Linked DNA regions of Homo sapiens: region 1 is linked to region 2. The links are contacts of gene promoters, found by promoter capture Hi-C in human tissues and cell types (Jung and others, 2019). All regions are on one chromosome and are shown on one strand. Each heading gives the region's core, a stretch centred on a gene start or on the middle of the fragment in contact. The rest is flanking DNA. Distances are from core to core; before and after follow the strand shown. Region 1 holds the start of CYP1A2 (cytochrome P450 family 1 subfamily A member 2). Region 2 overlaps CLK3 (CDC like kinase 3).

Evidence for each region. The method cuts DNA at HindIII sites, captures the fragments that hold promoters and counts their contacts. A contact is called where the count stands out against the background at its distance.
Region 1: the fragment with the promoter of CYP1A2 here is called in contact with a fragment that was not itself captured in region 2 in 4 of the 25 tissues and cell types used here (lymphoblastoid cells, mesendoderm cells, spleen and 1 more).

Annotation. Positions count from the first base shown.
Region 1 is chr15:74,747,437-74,750,136 of GRCh38, reverse strand. CYP1A2 (cytochrome P450 family 1 subfamily A member 2) reads right to left here and starts at 1,292. Exons shown (of 7, transcript NM_000761.5): 1 at 1,240-1,292; 2 at 1-407. The coding sequence starts at 398. RefSeq lists promoters at 399-1,536, 1,202-2,700 and a cis regulatory region at 2,623-2,700. The HindIII fragment of the contact is 12,167 bases long and covers 1-2,700 here.
Region 2 is chr15:74,616,182-74,618,881 of GRCh38, reverse strand. The region is part of intron 1 of CLK3 (CDC like kinase 3); the gene reads right to left. Among named protein-coding and RNA genes, the nearest start is that of CLK3, 1.7 kb to the right of the region's middle. RefSeq lists enhancers at 1,681-2,291, 2,292-2,700. The HindIII fragment of the contact is 8,305 bases long and covers 1-2,700 here.

The DNA.
Region 1 (2,700 bases), core at 43-2,542, 130 kb before region 2:
CACACCGGTCCAGAGTCTGTGCTGAAGGTCAAGCTCTGGCCATCAGTGATGAGGGTGGAGGTGTAGAGGTCAGGCCGGCCCTTGAAATCGTCGCCCTGCCGCACCAGGGCCTGCCGGATGGTGTCCAGGCGGCTCAGCACCAGCACGGGCGTGGAGCCAATGCGGATCTGCAGGACGTCCCCGTAGCGCTGGCTCATCCTTGACAGTGCCAGGTGCGGGTTCTTCCCCAGGGTCAGCACATGCCCGAGCAAGGGCCAGCCCCATGGCTCTGGTGGACTTTTCAGGCCTTTGGGGACCCGAGGCCTCAAACCCTTGAGCACCCAGAATACCAGGCAGAAGATGGCAGAGGCCAGGAGAAGCTCTGTGGCCGAGAAGGGAACAGACTGGGACAATGCCATCTGTACCAACTGCAGGGAAAAAAGGAGGGACCAGGCTGAGGGTTGAGATGGAGACATTCATTCATTCATTTCCTCAGTCATTTGATAAACACTGATGCGTGTTCTGTGCTTGGCTCCCAGCTGGATACCAGAAAGACTAAGCTCCATCTACCATGCGTCCTGGGCCCACAGAGCTCACCCTTTGAGCATCACAGAATCTGAGAGCTGGAAAGGAGCCTCAAGATTCCCAACATGAACGCTGGCTCTCTCCTCCACACATCATCTCAGTTTCCACTTCTGGGGCTGGAGTAGAGGCAAGTGACCACTCCAAAATGGGGAAGCCAAGGACAGCACCCTTGTCAGCCCCTGGCACAGCATGCATGCTGGGTATTGTACCAAAGAGTCCCTGCCAGTGCTGGCTTTCTGCTGATACCTTCCATATACCCAAGGGACCAGGAGTTCCCCCTACCCAGTGACACTGAGGTGGCCAAGGTCCCAGGGCTGGTTCAAATAGCCTGTGATGCCCCCTCCCCAGGGCATTCTTTATCAATACCAGGAGGGGCACCTCCTCCAGGGATGAGTCCCCATCCTCTCACAGTCTTGGAGGTTGGGGTTGGGCTTCAGCCAGGGCCAGGGCTGCCCTTGTGCTAAGGGGGAAGCCCTCCCCATCGCTCTCCTTAAAAATGGCTTAGTCCAAACTGCTCATTTAAAATCGGGAAACAGAAGTCAAGAGCTGGGTAGCAAAGCCCGGAACTCAGGACCCCTACACCTAGCCCAGGCTCCCCGTCTTTCTGTCCCCACTAGCTTCCAGGTTCTATAGTTGGGGATCCCAGAGATTGTAAATTGGTCCCAAGAAAGGTACCTGTAGAGGCAGGTGCTTGAGATTGGCAGGGTTGTAATGGCTGGTGTGGAGCTTCTGGCTCTAGGTGAGTGGCCTTTTTATAAACACCGCCCCCTATCAGATTGGCCTGGTTGTCCTGATCACCTGATATGAAAGCTGGATCACTGAACAAAGTTGGAAGGATCAACTCTTGGCCTTGGGCCATTATCCCTCAGCTCCACCTACTACCTAAGACCCAGGGTGACTCTTTGGGGATAGGCCAGAAGGGGTGCTGGGTCCCTGGGGATGAAGGTACAGCTGTCTTTAGGGTTCAGGGTAGGGAGCCTATTTCTCTGAAGAGTAGGGTAGGGTCTGGGAGTGGGGGTTAGGCCTTTGGACTGATCTGGGCTTCTTTCCCACTGCACACATGAGGAAGAGCTCTGCCAGGGCACTCAGTCTAGGCCAACCAGGCTCACGGCCCCTCTCCAGAGGGATGTTCTTCTGTAGTACCCTCCAACAACCTGCAAAACCAAACAGTAAATGGGCGTGTTCCAGCCACTCCTGATTTTCAGCCCAAGTCCCCAAGTGGAAAAGAAGAGATGATAAAGATTTTGCATCCTAAAGAGAGGCCCCCCTTATGCAAAAAGACTAAGAGACATAACCAAATGCAATATGGATTTGCATTTGATTGCCATATCGATTGGATATGGCATTTAAACAAAATTTTAAAAAAATCTATAAAAGATGTTTTGGGGACAATTGGGGACATGTAAGCACGGACTGGAGATTAGATGATATTCTGGAATAAATGTAAATTTTTTTAGGTGTGAACAGAGTGTCATGGTATGTGGGAGTGTATCCTTATTCTTAGGAGATTAATGCTGTAGCATGGAAGTGTCATGATCCCCACAACCTCCTTTTGAATGGTTCTGTTAAAAAATGTACACCTCTAGGCCAGGCGCGATGGCTCGCACCTGTAATCCCAGCACTTTGAGAGGCCGAGATGGGCGGATCACCTGAGATCAGGTGTTCAAGACCAGCCTGGCCAACCTGGTGAAACTCCGTCTCTACTAAAAATACAAAAATTAGCCAGGCATGGTGGCATGTGCCTGTGATCCCAGCTACTCGGGAGGCTGAGGCAGGAGAATGGCTTGAACTTGGGAGGTGGAGGCTGCAGTGAGCCAAGATCGTGCCACTCCACTCCAGCCTGGGCGACAGAGTGAGACTCCGTCTCAAAAAAAAAAAAAATGTACACCTTTAAAGAGTGTAATTGGATTGTTTGTAACTCAAAGGTTTATCCTTGCTTGAGGGGATGGATACTCCATTCTCCATGAATGCTTATTTCATATTGCATGCCTGTATCAAAACATTTCATGTACCCCATACATATATACACCTACTATGTACCCATAAAATTAAAACAATGTATACCTATCTATCAATAAATCGAGAGAAAGTAGATATGAGAAATGTCAGATATTCATGGACTTACGTGAGGATATA
Region 2 (2,700 bases), core at 44-2,543:
GAACACTACCACAGGGAGATCAAAGGCAGGAGAAAGGGGAGCCTCCTGCACTCTATTCCCTCCCGCCCGGGGGGGCGGTCCCGTGAAGTGAATGCTCTGTAAAGCCAAAGGCCAGGCAAAGGGCTGTACACAGGAGGCGAGGGCTCAAAGCCCTCAAGTTTGAGAAGCTGAACGCTGTCTGGCTAGGGCCCTGAACTGGACCCCACTCAAGGGAGTAAGGACCACAAGTGAGCATGAGGAGCCACAAGAGACTAGAAGAGCAGCCCTTGGAGAAAGAGGCACACAGGCCTCACAAACATTCCATAGCCCTCCTGAGGGTCAACCCAAGGGGACGTGGACCCAGCGCATCTAACTTTCTTTCCAGAGGCCCATTTAGCACCCTTTTAGACCCCCACAGTGCCCTGCCAGGTGCCTTGCCTTTATCCAACAGTACCGTTACTGTCCCTTCTTCTAGCTCTCTGGCTCTAGTATCCTACCCTCCGCCTATCCCAGGATAGCCAGAGGGTTAGCCATCTGGCAGGTAAAAGAGCCCCACCTCACTATCCCTGTTCAGTGAGGACTTATATCCACCAAATGAAATTGCCAGGCTGGATCTGCCACCAGCGGAGAAAGCTGGCCATGTGAGGCCAGCAACCTGCTCCACCCATACGTCAATCCCTGACTGCCTCCATGGAGCCAGCCTTCTTCCCAACACTCACACTTGGCCACAGCCAACCTCCAGTCATGGTCAGTCCTGAGCTTGCCTGGCCAAGCACATTTTGTACAAACCCACTGAGGCTGCCCCATCTCACCAGCAGGGTCTGTCAGGAGAAAAGCAGCATAGAACAGCTCCCCATGCTTGAGCAGGACAGTGAGGCCTATGTGACCAAACCCCTGGGAGCCTCTCCGTGTCCCTAAGAAAGCCCTCCATCTCCCCACTAACTTGTCTTCCCCCGTGTACCTGGGAAGTCTTTGGAGATAAATATTTTGTGAAATCACCTCCCCAAAAGCTTAGATTTGTTGTTTTGGTAATCAGCTGACTAATATTTCACTGTTTTCCTGCAATTACTCTGGGTCAGGTGCCCAAGCTATGGAATGAAAGCAGGAACTCACACCCCACTAATTGACCCAGAAGATGCTCTATTGGCCAGGGCACATGTCGTGCCACAAGGCAAGTATGGTCCTGCCCATCCTCACTGGGCAGACAAACACCAGAGCTGGAGGACACAGTCACAGTCACACCACGCCAAAGACTACCTCCTGGGACCTAGAAGATTCTTATGTCCATACATATTCACATCAATGGAAAACAAAATTTCAGAGTCATATAGATGTCAATCTGAATCATGGCTTGCCACTTCTAGCTGTGTGCCTTTGAACAAATTATTACACTACTCTGACCGTCAGCTTCATCTTGCAACAAGGGAATAGTAATCTCTTACAAGGTTCTGTGAGGATTAAATATCTCTCTCCTATAAGTGAAATGCCTAGCACAGCTTTGTGCCCACAGAGGTACTAGTGGCAGCTTTTCATGAACATCTGAAAGTTCCAGGTAACACTTCAGGGCTGTGTTAAATGCCTTACAGACATTTTATAAGTCCCTTCCAAGGAAACTGGGAGGCAAGAGCTCTGGCAGAAAACTAAACTAAATCCTAGTGCTGTCACATACCAGCCTCATGACCTTAGACAAGTCACTCTAGGCCTTGGTTAGCATGCCTGGAAAATGGAGATAACATCTCTCAGCCTGGCAAAAGAGATGACAAGCATGAGAGTTATAAGGTACCACACACAAAGCAATAACAGAGAAGAGTATCCTTCCTTTAACACATTCTAGGCAAGTAAAATATTGGAAATAGCAGATATCATCCTCCCAGCCAGGGCTCTAGGGCCCATTTCTCAATTATCTCTGATTCTCGAAAACCTCAGCAAACAGCTTGTTTAAAAAGCAGCTAAAGGCCACAATTATGCTTTGGGAAGCTCTGCTCTGCACAATGAGGAAAAAGGTGATATGAAGAAAACCAAGCCAAGGATGTCAACTTTGAGCACAGGCCTTGTCGGCTTCTCATTTGCTGTTCCTGGCCAGAGAACTGGGCTGACTAGAAGTGCAGCCAGCCAGGTCAGCGGCTGCCCTCCCGGATTCCAGCCACCCCAGCACCCATGGTTATTTTTGGCTGGACTGCCCTACCACTGCAACCTCAAACCTGCCACCTCGCAAGCCTCCACCACCAACGGTGAAACGCTCCTCCTTTTCAAGGGCATCAAGAAGGGAAGCTGGAAGGCCGCCAACTCCGCCTCTGATGGGGGCCTGGTTCAGGCAATTTCCACCCCAGCTCCACATCAGGGCACCCACACCCGGAACTAAAGCTAGAGACTCCCGGGCGGGACGGAGGAGCAGCCAGGGGATTTGAACTGTCAGCTTGGCCTAGCCCATCCTCCGGGCTGGAGTGGCTCTACCACCACAACAAAACACACAGGGGAGCCTGCGCCCTCGTTCGCGTCCCTTCCTGCCGCCCCAGGTCCCAGGGGGTCTCAGAGTCCCATCCCCTGTAACCGCCACCAGTGGCGCCGAGGGGAGACCCGGGGACAGAGGGAAAGCCGGACTGGGCCAGAATCAAACTCCAGGCCGCCAAGGGAGGAGTCATCTGCGGACTAAGCCTGAAGCCAGGGGTAGGGGAGGGGTCTGAAGGGCTTCTCTGGCTCTTCTACGTCGGACCCCGACCC